4 separate regions of the Homo sapiens genome follow, and regions 1, 3 and 4 are each linked to region 2. The links are contacts of gene promoters, found by promoter capture Hi-C in blood cells and fetal thymus (Javierre and others, 2016). All regions are on one chromosome and are shown on one strand. The core of a region is centred on a gene start or on the middle of the fragment in contact, and the rest is flanking DNA. Distances in the headings are between cores, read along the strand shown.

The links. Contacts are between HindIII fragments. The CHiCAGO score rates a contact against its expected background, and 5 or more counts as called.
Region 1: a fragment that was not itself captured here is called in contact with the fragment with the promoter of API5 in region 2 in 1 of 17 cell types (M2 macrophages); the score reaches 13.6 in M2 macrophages.
Region 3: a contact is called between a fragment that was not itself captured here and the fragment with the promoter of API5 in region 2, in 1 of 17 cell types (M2 macrophages). The highest score is 6.7, in M2 macrophages.
Region 4: a fragment that was not itself captured here is called in contact with the fragment with the promoter of API5 in region 2 in 1 of 17 cell types (M2 macrophages); the score reaches 5.8 in M2 macrophages.

What each region holds. Positions count from the first base shown.
Region 1 is chr11:43,440,768-43,443,467 of GRCh38, reverse strand. TTC17 (tetratricopeptide repeat domain 17) reads right to left here. Exons shown (of 24, transcript NM_018259.6): 17 at 1-143. Among named protein-coding and RNA genes, the nearest start is that of TTC17, 83 kb to the right of the region's middle. The HindIII fragment of the contact is 890 bases long and covers 863-1,752 here.
Region 2 is chr11:43,310,554-43,313,253 of GRCh38, reverse strand. API5 (apoptosis inhibitor 5) reads right to left here and starts at 1,258. Exons shown (of 14, transcript NM_001142930.2): 1 at 1,058-1,258. The coding sequence starts at 1,126. RefSeq lists an enhancer at 730-1,505. The HindIII fragment of the contact is 11,672 bases long and covers 1-1,433 here.
Region 3 is chr11:43,477,626-43,480,325 of GRCh38, reverse strand. The region is part of intron 21 of TTC17 (tetratricopeptide repeat domain 17); the gene reads right to left. Among named protein-coding and RNA genes, the nearest start is that of MIR670, 81 kb to the left of the region's middle. The HindIII fragment of the contact is 1,050 bases long and covers 864-1,913 here.
Region 4 is chr11:43,460,790-43,463,489 of GRCh38, reverse strand. The region is part of intron 21 of TTC17 (tetratricopeptide repeat domain 17); the gene reads right to left. Among named protein-coding and RNA genes, the nearest start is that of MIR670, 98 kb to the left of the region's middle. The HindIII fragment of the contact is 5,243 bases long and covers 1-2,700 here.

The sequences.
Region 1 (2,700 bases), core at 58-2,557, 130 kb before region 2:
TTTCATCTCTAGTGCACCCCCAAAGCCTTCCAAAGGCCATGCCTGTTGAAATTCATCCACCAAAGCCAGTATTTCTTCTGACATTTTGGTTTCATCTGAATTCTCCATCTCATCAGAACCATTGCTCTCCTCAACCACCGTACCTGAAATTCAAGGGCCAGCACGTTAGTAAAAGGTACACAGTACTCATTCAAGACCTTGGGTGACTCCAACCCTGCTTTTGGAGAAACGTTTTGGCTCTGCTTAGAGGCACTACTATAGCCCAATGTAATAAAAATTCCATTCAGCATCTTCAAAATACATAATAAAATACCAACTTTGTCATCTAGCGTTTGCCAAAAGCCTGGCTGAGAACAGTGGCAGCTAGAGAGCAGGCAGTCAGAGATTCTGTTATTAGCGAGCATGGGGACAGGTATGTGATACACTATTTTTTAAAAAAGATCCACTTGCTCTACATTCAAAACATAGATGGCAAGGATGAAGCTTATTATGTTATTTAATATATGGGATTCTTCAAGGTTTATTCAAGTATCTGGACATAGCTGTGTGTCCAGACCATATAGCTGGCTTAATTGCCTTAATTGAAAAATGATTTGTTTAATGGAAAACTATCCTAATTCTACATGAAGGCTCCCATTTTTCACTAAATGGCTGATATAAGAAATAGCAATATACTACAATAATTTCTTTCTAAAATGATTACCAAGATATTATTTAGGTGGCTCAAGTCTCTTACATAAAGACTCCTATGGAAGACTCTCAGTGTAATGGCCTAGCAAAAATTCTCTCTCCTGAGAACTCAGTATGTTTCCTTTATTATCCAATGAAGGTTACACAGCCCTCTTGAGTTCTCCTCTAAGCTTGAATAACAAGGAAGCTCAGGCAAAATTAGCCCGAGTTTCTTAATAGAAGGCTTTCTTTTAAAAAATTCTTCACTACTTAACTTTTCCTGTTTATTTTGAATTGGCTGGATGTTACACTGTGCATTCCATGAAAGTCATCCCTAGTCCCTTTAGGAAGTAGATAGGGTACAAGAACAAATAACAAAATGTCTCCTTTTGTAACATGTACCCACAGGAAAACCTGAGAGCTCTGGGTTGATACCTCACAAAATGCCAGTTTCATTATTCTAGTGCAATAATCTTCAGTTGGTAATTCTGGCTTGTTCAGGGATTTAGAACATGGTATTATAGCCATGCACCACATAATGAAGTTCTGGTCAATGATGAACTGCATATACCATGGTGGTGCCATAAAATTATAATACTGTATTTCCCCTGTACCTTTTCTGCATTTAAATATGTTTAGAGACACAAATATTTACCATTGTGTTACGCTTGCCTACGGTATTGCAGTACATAAACATGCTGTAGAGGTTTGTAGCCTAGGAGCAAGAAGCTACACAATATAACGCGGGAGTGCAGTAGGCTATACCACCTAGCTTTGTGTAAGTAAGTACAGTACACTCTATGATGTTCCCACGACGGCAAAATCACCCAAGGACGCATTTCCTAGAACATATCCCTGTCGTTAAGCAACACATTGGAAAAAATTCATGCTGTTTAGCTACGAAGAGTTCTGCAAACCCAGTAACCCAAGGTGATTGCTTCCTTGTGCTCCTACCATATGGTAATATTTATCGTTATTTAAAAATTCTGAGAGAGAGGGGCTTTCATTAATGGAAACTGATATTCAAATGAAGAGAGAATATGGAGCTTGCTGAAGGCTTCTGTTGCTGGTAGCCATTAAGCTTTTCTAAAGGCTGCTGGGGTTGGGGCGAAAGCAATTCCTAAAAAAACAACACTAAATATGTACATATTTTTATATTTTCTCCTCACAGGTGAAGAATAAGTAGATTATAAGTGTGCTCTGAGTTAGCAAAAAATAAACCAAACTTTATTGACAGCCTACTATATGTCTATCTCTGTAAGCTGTAGGTGGGAACAAAAAAAAATGGAAAGTTTCTAACCTTAAGAAATGAAATATAATGAATTTATAATCAAGTTGGAGACAGACAACTACATACATGAAATAATAAGAGAAAAATTAATTTTTTTTTAGAGGGAAAAAATATTTGCATGTAATCACAAAATGCTTCTTAGAGAAAGGCGGACTACCTGAGACAGGATTTAAACAGATAAGAGTAGAGGGTCAGGGAGGTCACTCCCCATAGGGACTTTTTTTTTTTTTTTGAGATAGAGTCTTGTTCTGTTGCCCAGGCTGGAGCGCAATGCAGTGGTGTGATCTCAGCTCACTTAAACCTCTGCCTCCTGGGATCAAGTGATTCTCCTGCCTCAGCCTCCCAGGTAGCTGGGATTATAGGCGCAGGCCACCACACCTGGCTACTTTTTTTGTATTTTTGTAGAGATGGGGTTTTGCTATGTTGGCCAGGCTGGTCTTGAACTCCTGGTCTCAGGTGATCCGCCCACCTCAGGCTCTCTAAGTGCTTGGATTCAGGTGTGAGCTACTGCATCCAGCCTTCCAGAGTTAACAATTTTTTTTTTTTAAAGCATGTATGCATAGACTCATTTGTCTACACACATACATACAGGGATAGTAAAGGCACATGTGAGGGCATTACCAATTTCAAATTAATTAGAATAAAGAATGTATACAGGGGATAGTAACAAATAAGATACTGAGGAAAAGGTAGGTGATGTTACAAATGTGTGGGAAAGTCACGAAGAGGATTTGTTGTAA
Region 2 (2,700 bases), core at 9-2,508:
GGCAAGCATCGTTAAGAGAGCTCTTCCAGACAACTCCATTCAGAGCTGCGCACTCACACTCTCCTTCGCCCAGCCCTGTTTTATTTTCTTCAAACATGTTTCATTAAAAAGAATAAATTTTTAAAAAAAACCTTTTTTTTTTTTTTTGAGACGGGGTCTTGCTTTGTCTCCCAGGCTGGAGTGCAGTGAAGCGATCTCGGCTCACCGCAACCTCTGCCTCCCGGGTTCAAGCAATCCTCCCACCTCAGCCTCCTGAGTAGCTAGGATTACAAGCGCGTGTCACCACGCCCGGCTAATTTTTGTATTTTTAGTAGAGACAGGGTTTCACCATGTGGGTCAGGCTGGTCTCGAACTCCTGACCTCGTGATCCGCCCGCCTCGGCCTCCCAAAGTGCTCGGATTACAGGCGTGAGCCACCAAGCCGGGCCTCACAATGCCTATCTTTCTTACTACACTCCCTCCTAACTGTACATTCTGGGAGAGCGCGGACCTTTCCATCTGTATCTCCAGCGCTCGGCACTCAAAAAAATGCACTGAATAAATGAAACCGTGAGCTCTCATCAAAGTCTGGACCAAAGAGTCCCTCTTCTGTTTCTCACAAACTTCTGTCTCCTAAACACTCTTCTTCAATTAGTAGCAGAATTTTGCCTCCCCCCCAAAAAAAACACATCTTGACCTCATGAAGAAAACTCCCGATCTAATCTTGGAAGCACTGAGCTCCACCGAAAAGGAGAAAGGCTTAAGAGAATCCTGTAGAGAAAAGCTCCGTGAGAAGAATTAACGTGAGCCTGAACGGGCTGAGTTAGGTTACGCCACGGTGAGAAAAGGCTGGGCAAGGGAGGCAAGGAAGCCTGGAACCCTGGGGACCGCGGTCTCCCTGGTGAAACCAGAGTCTACACTCCCAGAGAGGCCCACCCCGACGAGACGGCCTGAGGAGGCTAGGAGGCCCCGGGAGGATGAAGCCGCAGCCCCCGCTCGGCCCGGGGAGTGCGGCGGGAAGCGCTTTCGAAAGGCCGCGGAGCGCCAGGCCCTGCAGGCCGCCCGGGGACTCAACTCACCTGGCCCACTTGCTCCGTGGCATCGGCCAGGATGCCATAATTGCGGTAAAGCTCCTCTACTGTCGGCATGGTGAGCGACAAGCCCAGGGCCCGGTTCCGCTATCCTTGTCCTGACCGGCGCCACCGCCGCCTCGGAACTTCTCCAAACCCACTACCCGCACTATTACACCTCCAGCTGCCGCCAGTGCAGCCGCCAGTCACCGCGCACAGCGCGGCTGCGCCCCCGACGTCTACGTAAAGACGCGCACGTCGGGAGCGGCCTTCAGTAGACACCCCCCACCCCAATGCGCCTCCGCGGTTTTTGTCGCCCTCTACAGCCTGGAGGAGCAAAAAAGCGGCAAGGATGATTGAATTAGCTCACGCCTTTTTGAAAGCTTGAGCTTGGCTGCAGGCTCTCCATGGAAGGGGTGTGGGTGGGCGGGGAAGTGAATACAAAGACAATTGCGTTTCTGCCCTTAGAAGATCTTACATATGAGAAGTCACAAATGGTTTCCTCCTGATTCAAGGAAGGTAATATTAATCGGTGGCACTAGAGGCTAGTGGGTCCGGTGGGAAGCAAAAAACATTCCTATGCTATTAAAAAACCCTCTGTGTCCACCACGCTCATCAAGTGCGGGGTCAAATTTGGCCTGCTGGAAGAATTTGCTTATCTTTGCTGCCAGTGTAAAGAATTGGGGCCACCTGATTATGTCCAGTATCCAAAAGAATAATAAATAAATGAAATCACGTACGCTTACTGATAAGAATTTCTAAGATACAAGTTTAAATGAAATTATATATATAATATGATATAATATATAATATTTTATATATTATATAATATATAACATTATATATTAATATATAATAATTTTATATATTATATAATATATAATATTATATATTAATATATAATATTATATATTATATAATATATAACATTATATATTAATATATAAATATATAATATATAATATAAATATAATAATATTATATTAATATATAAATATATAATATATAATATAAATATAATAATATTATATTAATATATATTAAGATAATAATATTAATTAATACATTAATTATATAATATAATTATAATATATCTATATATTGAGATATAATATTAATTAATATATCAATATTATCAATTATATATTATAATTATCTTATATTATATATAATATATTAATTATATAATTAATATATTAATATTATTATCTTAATATATATTAATATATTATTATATTTATATATCATATATAATATTATGATATTAATATTATAATATATATTATATATTATATTATATATACAATTATATATATAATATATATTATATATTGTATATTATTATATAATTATATATTAAGATAATAATATATATTAAGATAATAATATATTATATATATTAAGATAATAATATATATTATATATATTAAGATAATAATATATATTTATATATTAAGATAATTATATTTATATAATAATATTATATATATATATAGCCGTGTGCGGTGGCTAACGCCTGTAATCTCAGCACTTTGGAAGGCTGAGTTGGGTGGATCACTTGAGGTCAGGAGTTCAAGATCAGCCTGGTCAACATGGTGAAACCCTGTCTCTACTAAAAATACAAAAATTAGCCAGGCGTGGTGGCATGCACC
Region 3 (2,700 bases), core at 139-2,638, 170 kb before region 2:
GTGATCTGTCCTTTCTTTCTGTCTCCATGAGGGCAGAGATCTTTTGAGTTGTTTTTCACTGATTTATCCCAACCATTTAAAAAGTAAATGGCATATAGTAAGCTTCTACTAACCATTTGCTGAATGAATGAATAAATGAATGAGTGAATGAATACATGGCTACTGTGATACTTATTGAGCTATTGTCTTTCAGGTCCAAATCTGCTTTGCGATAACTGCTGGCACTCTGCAAACCACATTTCTCCTTTGTTAACAGGCTTCTTGTTAGGTTCAGCAAACATGTGCACTAGAAGATTGGAAGGCAAGAGGGAGAAGGGACTTCTTTCTTCCTATTTGCATGCTGCTCCTGTCAGTGTTATTCCAGCAACAGCACTCTAGTCTCCAGGTTCTTTAAGCACTCCCAGACCCAGGCTCACTGCACCCTTCTGCCACAAGGCTGTCCCTCTCTGTGGAAGCAAGAGCTCCAGCTCCTCAGTTTCTCCTGTAAACTTCTAAATTCTGAAAACCCTAATCACTTGCTGCCCTTTTCCACACCTAGAGGTGGGAGCTGTTCCCTACAGTTATCTTTAGTTTACTTCCTTGTTTCCTTTTTCTCTTTCAGCCCTCTACAACGTCATCAATTCTCTAAATCAAATTTGCTTTTCTGAAATACCTAGTGTTATTTCTGTTTTCCTGACAGTACCCTGACTGAAATGGATGCTTTAAGATACCTTTGCCTTTGCTATTTTGTAGTTCTACTATAATGTATGTAGGTATGGATTTCTTTTTACTTTTCCAGCTTGGAATACATGGTACTTCCTAAGTCTGTTGATTCATTTGTCTCCTTGTCTCTATAATATTTCAGGTAAATTTTTTACAAAGCTTGCAATTCACTATTTAATTATGTCTAATTCATGTAACCCATCAACTGAATATCTGACTTACACAATTTATTTTAGTTTAAGATGGCTAATTTGCTTTTTAAATTTACCTACTCATTTCTGATGCTATTTGTTTCTCATCTTTGTAATCACATCATTTAAATGTTTTATAATGAAAAATTTCAAGTATATACAAAAATAAAGGAACTTTTTTTTTTCTTTTTTTGAGATGGAGTCTCGCTCTGTCACCCAGGCTGGAGTGCAGTGGCGTGATCTTGGCTCACTGCAACCTCTGCCTCCCGGGTTCAAGCTATTCTCCTGCCTCAGCCTCCAGAGTAGCTGGGATTACAGGTGTGAGCCATCACACCTTGCTAATTTTTTGTATTCTTAGTAGAGACAGGGTTTCACCATGTTGACCAGGCTAGTCTCGAACTCCTGACTTGGTGATCCACCTGCTTCAGCCTCCCAAAGCACTGGGAATACAGGCGTGAGCCACCACGCCCGGCCTGGAACTACTCTTTTAAAAGCTGCACTCCTGGCTGGGTGCGGTGGCTCACACCTTGTTATCTCAGTAATTTGGGAAGCCAAGGTGGGAGGATTGCTTGAGGCCAGGAGTTTGAGACCAGTCTGGGCAACATAGCGAGACTACATTTTTATGAAAAAAATTTAAAAATTAGCTTGGCATGGTCCGTGCCTGTCGTCCTAACTACTTTGGGGGTTGCGGGATGGGGCAGGGAGGATGAGGCAGGAGAATCACTTGAGCACAGGAGTTTGAGGCTGCAGCGAGCTAAGACTGTGTCACTGCACTCTCGCCTGGGTGACAGATGGAGACCCTGTCACTTTAAATTACATAAATAAATAAATAAAACAATATAATGAACCCTCATGTGCTCATCATTCAGCTTCAACACTTATCAACTCATGGCCATGTTGTTTCATCTATACCCTCATCCATGTTAATGTGAAGCAAATTCCAGATTTCATACAATTTCATGGGTAAATTCTTTAGTGTGTGCCTCTAAAAGATAAAAACTCATGTTTAGAACATAAGCTTATGTACATTATGCCTAAAGAAGTGAAAATGATTCTTTAATATCATCAAGTATTCAGTTGGTTGTTCCTATGTACCCCAAGTGTCTTACAGAAGTTTCATTTTGCTTTTACAGTTTGAATCACAATCTAAATGAGCGCCATACATTTTAATTGGCTGCTTTCTCCTTAAATCTGTTGTGATCTCTGGGGTCCATCTTCATTAGTTTTTTCTTTACAAATTTATTTTTGTAGAAGAAATAGGGTTATCTGTCCTGTTGGTTTCCAGCATTAGACTCTGATATTGCATCCTCATGGTACCATTTAACATGCTCCTTTGTTCCCTGTTATTTCTCACAAATTGTAATTACAGAAGTGACTGGTTTAGATTTAACTTTTGGGGGAAGAGTGGGACAAAACTACTTTATAGGTGTGTACTTCTAATGATACACACATACTGTCTGGGTGTCTCAGATGTTAGCAGCAAGTGATGATCACTGCTGATATTCATTAAGGGCTACAAAACTGTAATATACTGATGTTATTATCACTTTCAGTTTATTAATCGTAATATTCCTAGAGAGACTTTCCCTCATCAATTGCTTATCCCCCAAAAAAAATTAATTTAGAAAAGGAAGGACACATGCTTTTTACTTTTAATTATATCTACATTGAAAAAAAACTATTCCCATGTGATATGGTTTGGCTGTGTCCCCACCCACATCTCGAATTGTATTTCCCAGAATTCCCACGTGTTGTGGGAAGGACCCAGGAGGAAGTAATTGAATCATGGGGGCCGGTCTTTCCCATG
Region 4 (2,700 bases), core at 132-2,631, 150 kb before region 2:
TTAAAATTCTCTTACAACTTCTGTTTTTTTAAATTGTATATATGAAAGCTATTTATTTTTGTATGATATTTTTATTTTGTATGCTATTTTTATTTTGTAAGCTATTTTTATTTTGTATGATTTCTGGCTTAATCTGTATTGGTCAATATCCATTTCCATGCTAAGAAATTTAAATCTTTGGAAATTTGTTAAGGCCTTTTTTATGGCTCAGTCATATGTTAAGTGTTCACATATGATAAATGTTCCTTCCTTGTGCATGTAAAAGAATGAATTTTGGGCCGGGCACGGTGGCTTACAGCTGTAATCCCAGCAATTTGTGAGGCTGAGGCGGGTGGATCATGAGGTCAGGAGTTTGAGACCAGCCTGGCCAATATGGTGAAACCCCGTCTCTATTAAAACATACAAAAATTCCTGGGTGTGGTGGCGCACGCCTGTAGTCCCAGCTACTTGGGAGGCTGAGGCAGGAGAATCACTTGAACCTGGGAGGCAGAGGTTGCAGTGAGCCAAGATAGCACCACTGCACTTCAGCCTGGGCAATAGAGTGAGACTCTGTCTCAAAAAAAAAAAAGAATTTTGTCACTGCTGGATTCAGTGCTTACATATGGCAGCTAGGTTCAGTTTGTAATTGTGGTGTTTTTGGTCTGCTACAATAATAACTGCTATCAGTTATTATAATTTTATTCAAATCTACTTTGATTGGGAATATGTCTATTTCTTCTGCCAGTTATGTCAATGTTTACCTTATATATTTTAGATTATGTTCTTTGGTGCATACAGTTTACAGAACATACCTACCTTGTGAATTAAATCTATATTACTTTCCTATAGCTACTGTGACAAATTAACACATACTTGGTGGTTTAAAACAATAAAAATCTATTCCTTCACAGCTCTTAAGGCAGGAGGTCCAAAATCAATATCATTGGGTCAAAGTCAATGTGTCAGCAGGGCTGTGCTCCCTTCAGAGGATCTAGAGAATCTGTTACTTCCCTCTTCTGGTTTCTCGTGGCTGCTGGCATTCCTTGGCTTGTGGCTGCATAACTCTGCCTCTATTGTCACACAGCCTTCTACTCTTCAGGATTAAGTCTCTGTCTCCTTCTTTATAAGAATACATGTGATTGGCTTTAGGACCCAACTGGATAATCCAGGATAATCGCTCCATCTCCAGATCCTCAATTTTATCTGCAAAGTCCTCTTCTTTCCATACTGTGTATGTATATAGTTTTCACAGGTTCCAGGGATTAGAACGTGGATATCTTTGTAGGGGGGCACTATTCAGCCTGCCACAGATCCCTTTAGTGTTATAAAATATTCCACTTTAACTCCAGTAATGCTTCTTATTATAAAGTTTACTTTTTCTGACAAGGGTATAGTTATATAGCCGTTTTTTTTTTTTTTTTAATCTAGCCTACATTTAATTCTTAAGTTACACAGTCTTCCTCCATGTAACTACTGATGTGCTTGGGTCTATATTCGCCATTGTACTATTTGTGCTCTACTTTTATGTACCTTTATCTTCCCTTGACTTCCTTTGGATTAATCAAATGTTCTACATGATTCCATTTTCCTTCTATTAAGTTACATTTAAAAATAATTTTTAGTTGTTAGCCTAGAGTTTAAAACATGCTTTTTTACTTATTAAGGCCAATGCAAATTATTACTTTTACTACTTGGCTGATACCAATTAAGCCTTAGGACTTTTAAACTCTATTTGCTTCCCTCTCATCATTTAAGTTATTGCTACCATGAATTTTAGATATACAGTACATAAAATTGAAACTCCTCAGGGTGTACCATTATTATTTTGTACAGTTACTATTCATTTACATATGTTTCCCAGTGTTCTTCATTCTTTCTTCCAAGTCCATATTTCTATCTTGGATTATTTTCCTGATAAACTTCCTTTACTTTTTCAGTGCAGGCCTACTGGTGCCAAATTGTCTCTGTTTTTGTTTGTTTGAACACATATTTGTTTTGCCTTAATCTTTTAAGAACATTTTGGCTGGTTTAGAATTCTAAGCCTGCAGTTTTCTTATTCTAGCACTTTAAACATGTTGTTACAATGGCTTCTAGTTTTTTTTTTTTTTTTTTTTTTTTTTGAGACGGAGTTTCGCTCTGTCGCCCAGGCCGGACTGCGGACTGCAGTGGCGCAATCTCGGCTCACTGCAAGCTCCGCTTCCCGGGTTCACGCCATTCTCCTGCCTCAGCCTCCCGAGTAGCCGGGACTACAGGCGCCCGCCACTGCGCCCGGCTAATTTTTTGTATTTTTAGTAGAGGCGGGGTTTCACCTTGTTAGCCAGGACGGTCTCAATCTCCTGACCTCCTGATCCACCCGCCTCGGCCTCCCAAAGTGCTGGGATTACAGGCGTGAGCCACCGCGCCCGGCCGGCTTCTAGTTTTTATCATTTCTGTTTAAAAGCTAACAGTCTCATTGTTGCAACTGTGAAGGCAACTGGTGAATTAACGATGGGACACATATTCTTTGTCACTACCATCAGGTAGAGGATATTTTCCCTGCCTGTAATTTTGAGCAGGCCCCGGGACTTGCTTTGAAAGGCAGCATGGATGAAGTAGTGCTGTTTCAGTTTTATGCACAGGCTCTAAGAGGCCTAGCCCAGATGCTTCTGCTTTCACCCTCTTGGAGCCCTCAGTCATCATGTGAAATGGCCCAGGACCCTGCTGGAGAGGGAACTGCAGCTG